Regions from separate parts of the Homo sapiens genome. Here all the other regions are linked to region 2. Evidence: promoter capture Hi-C in human tissues and cell types (Jung and others, 2019). All regions are on one chromosome and are shown on one strand. The core of a region is centred on a gene start or on the middle of the fragment in contact, and the rest is flanking DNA. Distances in the headings are between cores, read along the strand shown.

Region 1 (2,700 bases), core at 112-2,611, 76 kb before region 2:
CCTCCTCCTGCTCCTGCTCCTCATCTTTCAGGCTGTAGTGTGGGACAGAATGTCCCAACTATGGTGTCTGCCTTTCACTATGAGCCGTGTGCCCAACAACAAGAGCCCAATGAATGATGGAGAAGATGGAAGGAAACCACCTGGGCCCCTGCTGAGGACACTGCACCAACTCTGTGAACACCACCCCCATGGCCTTTGGTAAATGACCAGTGTCATCATGGGAGAGGTAGCCTGTGTTTCTCAGGACTCTTCCTCTCTGCAGCCAGGATACTTCCAGGAATGATGGAGCTGACACATCACTAAGTGCCAGTCCCAGAGCCAGGGTGGCAAATGAAGCTTATTGTGCAATGTGAACAAAATGTATCTGAAAATTACATGACCTGGCTTATTGTCCCCAAATTGCCTTCTACATATTTCCTCAAAATTACAAAGGGTTTGTGTTACCTGCCTAGCCTTCCCCATCAGGTAGATCCAAAGAAATTTGGTAAGTGAAATATTTCACCAAGACCAATGCAAATGGAAGCTTTGGTTTTCATTTTACTAAGGAGTAAGGAGGGAAAAATAGTCCTGCTGAGTGAGAGATTTTCAAGAACAGGGAACTTTCCAGATAAAACACCATTTTTCCAAATAAGTCTCAGGTCTGAATGCATTTGGAACATCCTACCCCTTGAATCCTGAGAAGAGAGACATCCAGTCTCCTAGACAAGAATTGCTCCACCCTCCAAACATTCACAGACCTAACACCCACTGTAGTTTAAAAGGCAGGATATTTGTGGTGTGAGTCCTGACTCCACCATCTCTTGGTTAGGGTTCCTGGAAACAGACCCAGATGGAGATTCATGGGCAAGAGGCTCACTGAGGCATGTGCTGGGGAGGCAGGGGCATGGGGTAGGGCAGAGGAAGAAGTCAGGCAGGGGTGCAGCTCAGCAGATGACAGCCACAGCCAGGCCCATGGAGAGCTCTGCAATGGGGATGGCCTCAGAGTGGTAGCATATCAGGGCAAAAGAGTCAACATTTTGTACCCGCATATAGACCTATTATTTAAAATAGGCAATTCCAGGAGGGGCATGAACTTGGACAAAGCAGCTTCCTTTGACTCAGATCAATGCCCACAGAAGGACTCAACTGTGAGCCATCAGCGGCCACACTCCCAGTAGCTGAGAGAATGAAGTCTCACTGGTAAAGGGGAAACTGGTGGATGGAGCCCCTGCTGAGAGAGCGAGGGATGTCATCTCGAGGAGACTCAGTTAACTCATCTGTACAATGGGAAAAATTATAACTATGACTACGTATGGTCATTTAAGGTCTGTGGACTATGTACTTAAGTTTGTTTTTATGGTAGCAGGGATCTTTTGTTTCCATGTGTAGTACTTCCTGAAGAATCTCATGTAAGGCTGGTCTAGTGGTAACAAATTTCCTTAGTGATTGTTTGCCTGAAAAACATTTTATTTCTCTTTGCTTCTAAAGCTTAGTTTGACAGAATATGAAATTCTTGGTTGAATTTTCTTGTCTTTAAAAATGCTGAAAATAGGCTCCCATCACTTCTGACTTGTACAGTTGCCACTGAGAACTTTGCAGTTAAACTGATGGGGCTTCCTTTGTACATTATCTGACATTTTTCTCTAGATGCTTTTAGATTTTTTATATAATTGACCTTGAAAAACCTGGTGACTATAGGCATTGATGTTCATTTTGTGTAGTATCTTTCATGTGCGTCTGTGTGAAGAGACCACTAAACAGGCTTTGTGTGAGCAATAAAGCTTTTAATCACCTGGATGCAGACAGACAGGCTGAGTCTGAAAGAGAGTCAGCAAAGAGAGATGGGGTGGGGCTGTTTTATAAGATTAGGGTAGGTAAAGGAAAATTACAGTCAAAGGGGGGTTGTTCTCTGGTGGGCAGGAGAGTGGGGGTCACAAGGTGCTCGGTAGGGGAGCTTTTGAGCCAGGATGAGCCAGGAGAAGGAATTTCACAAGACAATGTCTTCAGTTAAGGCAGGAACAGGCCATTTTCACTTCTTTTGTGGTGGAATGTCATCAGTTAAGGCAGGAAATGGCAATCTGGATGTGTACCTGCAAGTCACAGAGGATATGATGGCTTAGCTTAGGCTCAGAGTCCTGACAGTATCTCGCAGGTGTTCTCTTCATTTTTTGTGTCTAGATGTCTATGACACTAGCAAGATTAGGGAAATTTTCTTGGATTACCTCAGATATGTTTCCCACATTGTTTATGTTTTCTCCTTGTCTCTCAGGAATGCTAACAATTCAGAGGTTTGGTCATTTTATATAATTTCATATTTCTCAGAGACTGTTCATTATTTTTGTCTGTCTGGGTTAGTTCAAAGTACCAATCTTCAAGCTCTGAAGTGGTTTTTTTGTTTGGTCTAGTCTAATAATAAAGCTTTCAACTGTATTTTGAAATTCCTTAAGTGGAGTTTATCAATTCCACAAACTCTGATTGATTTCTTTTTAAAATGTGTATTTCTTTCTTCATCTCCTGGATTGCTTAAGAAATTTGTTTTTGTTGATTTTGAATATTGTCTTGGATCTCATTGAGCTTCTTAGCAATGTATGCTTTGAATTCTTTATCTGTCATTTTTGAGTTTTCATTTTGGTTAGGAACCATTGCTGGGGAGATAGTGAGATCCTTGATGGTCTCACAATATTCAGATGTTTCATGGTGCCAGGATTCTTGTGCTGTTTT
Region 2 (2,700 bases), core at 130-2,629:
AGAGAAGCAAGAGAGGCCTGTGGGTTCCCACATTCATCCCGTGGCTGCTGCTCCCTCTCCTGACACCCCCACTGCCTCACAGGGGTCTCCGTGCACCTTCCACCGGTCCTCACCCACAGTTACCGTGAGACTCCAGGTGGTTTCCTCCCTTGCTCACATCCCCTCCAGGAGCTTCCTCTTCCTGGAGCAGGCATGTCCCAACCCCACCTCAGGGCCTTTGCACTGGCTGTTCCCCGCTGCCTGGGGCTGCTCAACCTCTCCAGTCTCATAGAGACCACCCTGACCAGGGTCCAGTGGTCTCTCTCTAGCCCCTGTTCTATTTCACTTCCAACAGAGTGAGTATAACTCCCTGATCCTAATTGTTGATCGTAACCTACCATCCTCTACACACACTGTGTAGGAATTTACTGTGCAGTTCCACAGCCACCAGCCACATGTGCCACAGGACACTTGAAATGGGGCCAGTCCAAAATGATTCCTGGGCTAAGTGTAAAAAATACACAGGGAATTTCAAAGATTTACAAAACCAAAAAAAAAAAACACACATAAACGATCTCATTAATAATTGTTCCCGTTAGCTGAAATAATATTGTGGCTATATTAGGTTAAATAAATATTTTAAACATTACTTTCACCCATTTATTCTCATCTTTTAAAATGCATCTACTAGAAATTTTCAAATGCTTGTGGGTTCATGTCACATCTCTGTGGGCAGCAGCTCTGCAATGTCACCTCTATGGCTCATCATCCAGGTTCCGTCTTCAAGCCCTAGACCTCCTGGCATGGGCAGTAACTGGTGATAGGTTTGTTTATTGAATAATGAGTTATGAAAACAGAAGCCAGTGACCTTTTCCAAAAAGGTTAATTCCCTTAAATTTGGCAAAGAAATTCTCCATATTAGGGTGTGGACAGGGTCTTCTGGAACCTTCTGAAATAACCTCTCTGTTCCAGAGATTCAGAGACCGTGACCAAGTGCTCCTGGAAGCCTCTGATATCTGAAGACCCCGGGAGGCCAAGCCCTGTATTTTTCCCCTTTCTGAGCAAACAGGAAGTCACATTGCTTTCACAGTCAAAGGACCAGTGTCACCTCTGTGGAGACCTGGGTGACTCAAGCTTGGGAGCACTGGGGAAGAGAGGCATGGCTCAGGGAGGCTGCAGTGAGGACTGGAGTGGGGAGGAGGGGGAGATGGAGGAGGAGGCCTGGGAGGGGCAGGGGGAACTTAGGCAGGGAGGGAGCTTGTAGTGGTGGGGGAGTGAAAAGAGAGATGGAGAAAGAGGGGATGGGCAGAAAGAGGAGGAGGAGTCAGGGGCAGGGCATGGAGGTGGGTGGGGCTGGGCTGCCAAAGCAGGATAAATGCACACCTGCCTGCTGGTCTGGGCTCCCTGCCTCGGGCTCTCACCCTCCTCTCCTGCAGCTCCAGCTTTGTGCTCTGCCTCTGAGGAGACCATGGCCCGGCCTCTGTGTACCCTGCTACTCCTGATGGCTACCCTGGCTGGGGCTCTGGCCTCGAGCTCCAAGGAGGAGAATAGGATAATCCCAGGTGGCATCTATGATGCAGACCTCAATGATGAGTGGGTACAGCGTGCCCTTCACTTCGCCATCAGCGAGTACAACAAGGCCACCGAAGATGAGTACTACAGACGCCCGCTGCAGGTGCTGCGAGCCAGGGAGCAGGTGGGTGCTGCCTCCACCCGAGGGGTCCTGAGCCCTAGCCTGGTTTGTTGCCGGACCCCCAAGAGCATTCCAAGCAAATCAACACTGACACATTCATGATCTAATGCTCAGATTCATTCAGCTTTCTCTGACTCTCCGCTGATGCCCTTCATGCCTAAGCATGCTCCCGGTCCATGCACTGCAGACAGTTAAAGGAAGTGCTGCAGCTTCCTTTAACCTGCAGCAGCTGCTGTGTCTGTACCATGACCGTGGCATTTCCCAGCGTCCAGCAGGTGTGGATGGAGACTGTGCTGACTCTGGGTGGGCTTGATGCTGCTCAGGATGAGATCCAGGCGGTGAGGCTCATTCTCCTCCCTGAGTCCTCTCCTCAGGGGCCACATGGGAACCTGGCTCCCTGTTCTGCAGAGCCCTTCTTCCTTCCCCAAGTCATGCCCTTGGGCACAGCCCCTTAGGGCTAGTGGCCTTCACCCTCAGGCAGGCTGACCCACCCCTGCAGGCCAGGATGGCTGAGTCCCTGCTGGGGTGGAGCACGCCTGGCCCTGCCTCTACGAGCTGATGCAGAGTTAGACCTCAGCCAGATGAGGACAGCAGTCACCCAGCAGAGCAGAGGAGGGGTTAGGTCCAGAGTGAGCTTCAGCAGGGCAACTGGGCCCAGCTTGACCTGCATCCCATGGCAGAGCAGCAAATAGTGACACAGCCTTTAGAGCTCCTCCACCTTCTAGAAATTCAAAGGAATCCAGACCAGTCCCGTTTCTCCTCCTACAGCTGTCAGCTGGAGCCCTCACCCTGCACAGGAGGTGCACTCCCTGGTGCCATGGTCCCCGCTGGCCTGCATCTCCCTCTTAAGCATGACAGTAACTTGGAGTGAAGCACAGGGCATTGCAGACCATCAGACCTGGAAGCCTATTTTATACATGGGTAAACTGATACTCGAGGGATCTCAGCAGTTCCTCCTGGTTCCAAAGAGTCCCTCATCCCAGGTTTCTCCACAGCTCTGCCACGTAGTGTCTGGGAGAGGCCCTGTG
Region 3 (2,700 bases), core at 146-2,645, 130 kb before region 2:
GTAGTAGGATAATGAAGTAAATATACTGGCTATTCTGGTTCATGTAGCAGTAGCCATTCCTAACCCTGTAAGTAGGGGTATTAGTTGTATAGCTCTGCACTGACGGACTTGAGCTTTAATATCAGTTATAGGGTAATTGAGCTATAATATCAATTATACTTGGGCTATAATATCAGTTATAGGGTACTGATAGGGTCTGATTTCACAAGACTAGAAGTTAGGATAATATATGTTTGCACTGTTAACTTTTAGCAAACTTTACTTTTGTTGAAAACCTTTTAAGTTTGGAATTTCAATTATTCTTCACTATTAATAAGACCTCGTTCAGTCCATATTAACTTAGAACTGGTATGGATGGCTCCTTCCTGATTCTGTAAGTACTTTAAGGTTTGGGTTAGTGCAAACAGCTCGCACCCTTGAGCAGATCAATTATTAGAAAATTTTCCTAATTCTGATTCTATGATTTTCCTTATCACTTACTGAATACCCATTGTGTCTTTTTCCTTTATCACCTGGGAGGAACCATCTATCCTCCTATCCTGAAGAGAGTTCTTCCTAGATCTGGTCGGACCTTTGTATAGTAATTAATTAAGATTTAGATCCCCTGTTAGGAAACCTACTGGGTTAAGGATTTTTGATAGGAAGGCTACAGGTTGTCAGTGGCCTCAGTGCTTTCAGGCTACACCCTTGTTTACACTGACAAGGTGGTATTGGAGTGTTATAGGGTTACAGAGAAAACCTTCATTTATCAATTATAGGTTTTAATTTCACCCTGGCTTTTAAAGGAATAGGGTACACTTTTTTCTTTACTACTTCTCTCTTTCTCTTTGATTTCTTTGTCTCTCTCTTTCTTTGTCTTTCTCTTTGTTTCTCTCTTTGTCTGTCTCTTCCTCTCTCTCTTTGACTTTCTGTGTCTCTCTTTTTCTCTCTTCTGACTCCCTCTTTGTCTCTCTCTCTTCCTCTGTCTCTTTGACTTTGTCTCTTTCTTTCTTTCTCTCTGACTCCTTTTTTCTCTCTCTCTTCCTCTCTCTGTCTCTTTCTCTAACTTTCTGTCTCTTTCTCTCTTTCCTTTCTGCTGGTCTTTCCCTGCCTCTGCCAGCTGCTTATGCTGCTGTTCTCCCCTCTCCTTCCCCTTTTGATGGGTTTGGCAGTGTAAGACTGCCACCTCCTTGGATTTTTGCACTGCATGCAATAACTCCATGGCTTCCTTGTAGTATTTAATGGGGGTTCTTCCTTTCTTTCCAGATTGCAGCATGGGCATGTAGGATTAGATAAGCATACTTGCTATTTGTATACATATTTATTCTTCTTCCCTTTCCCAGTTCTAAAGCTTGGGTAAATGCCACTAGTTCTGCTGACTGGGCGCTGGTCCCTGGGGGAAGAGGCCTTACTTTCAAGTACTGTTACTATGGCATAACCTGCCCTTCATATCCCATTCTCCACAGATAAACTTCCATCAGTATATAGGTTAAGGTCAGGATTAGTTAAGGGGACTTCTAAGAGATCATCTCAGGTGGCATAAATCTGGACTATAATTTGTTGGCAGTCATGCTTGATTGGCTCATCATCCTCTGGGAGAAAAGTGGCAGGGTTGAGGGCCATGCATGTACATATTTGAAGCACCAGTCCCTCAAAGAGTAGGGCCTGGTATCTAAGTAGATGGTTGTCTGATAACCATAAACTTCCTTTGGCACCTAGTATGTCATTTACATCATGAGTAGTCCAGACAGTGAGATCCTTTCCTTGTATTATTTTGATAACCTCTAACACTAAGATGGCCACCACCACAACCACCCATAAATGGTGAGGCCAGCCTTTTGCTACCACATCAACTTCCTTACTTAAGTATGCCACTGATGTGGGGTTGTCCCACGAGTCTGAGTAAGGACTCCAAGAGCTATTCCTGCTCTCCTTGTGATGTATAAAGAGAAGTTTTGTCCTGTGGGAAGGTTTAAGGCTGGAGCTTGAGTTTGTTCCTTCCAATGCCCAGACTTCAGGGTTGATTCCCTCCTCAAGCAGGGGACAACAAATGGGTAACTTTTCCCCCATATTCATGTAAATAATAGCTGCAGCTTTGGCTAATATATCCCTCCCTAATAAGGGTATGGAACTTTCAGGCATAACAAGAAAGACATGTGAAAAGAGCAAAGTCTCCCAATTACAACTGAGGAAGTGGGAGAAATACCTGTCCCGGGATTCCTCAGATGGTAACAGACCTTGAGGACAGCTGTCCAGAACAGTAGATTAACACTGACAAAGCTGTGCCAGTGTCCAGGAGGAAGTCAATTTCCAGGCCTTCAATGGTTATACATACCCGGGGTTCAGTGAGAGTAATGACATGAGCTGGCACTTGCCCCGGGCACCCTCAGTCTTGTTGTTGGATCATCTGATTGGGGGCTTCTGGCCCAGAGAACCATTGCACTCTGGGGCAATGTGCCTTCCAGTGATTGCCTCGGCATAGTGGACACGGACGAGGAGGCAGCTTGTTTCTCATAGGACAATCTTTTAAAAGTGTCCTTGTAAACCACACTGATAACAAGCGCTACCTGGTGATTGGCCTGCTCCATTTTCTGTCCTCTCTGAACCACCAGTGTTTGTTTGTCTGAGGCCATGACTAAAGCTGTGGCCTTTCTCTGATTTTGCTTTTCCTTTTGGGCCTGTTCCTCTTGGTCCCTATTATAGAACACTGAAGTTGCCAGG

Evidence for each region. The method cuts DNA at HindIII sites, captures the fragments that hold promoters and counts their contacts. A contact is called where the count stands out against the background at its distance.
Region 1: a contact is called between a fragment that was not itself captured here and the fragment with the promoter of CST4 in region 2, in 6 of the 25 tissues and cell types used here (H1 embryonic stem cells, heart right ventricle, mesenchymal stem cells and 3 more).
Region 3: a fragment that was not itself captured here is called in contact with the fragment with the promoter of CST4 in region 2 in 5 of the 25 tissues and cell types used here (H1 embryonic stem cells, dorsolateral prefrontal cortex, heart left ventricle and 2 more).

The regions. Positions count from the first base shown.
Region 1 is chr20:23,764,183-23,766,882 of GRCh38, reverse strand. No RefSeq gene overlaps it. Among named protein-coding and RNA genes, the nearest start is that of CST1, 15 kb to the right of the region's middle. RefSeq lists an enhancer at 1,592-2,456. The HindIII fragment of the contact is 4,040 bases long and covers 1-2,700 here.
Region 2 is chr20:23,687,717-23,690,416 of GRCh38, reverse strand. CST4 (cystatin S) reads left to right here and starts at 1,379. Exons shown (of 3, transcript NM_001899.3): 1 at 1,379-1,675. The coding sequence starts at 1,448. The HindIII fragment of the contact is 7,573 bases long and covers 1-2,700 here.
Region 3 is chr20:23,814,658-23,817,357 of GRCh38, reverse strand. The region is part of intron 1 of LOC105372575 (a long non-coding RNA gene); the gene reads right to left. Among named protein-coding and RNA genes, the nearest start is that of CST2, 11 kb to the left of the region's middle. The HindIII fragment of the contact is 7,850 bases long and covers 1-2,700 here.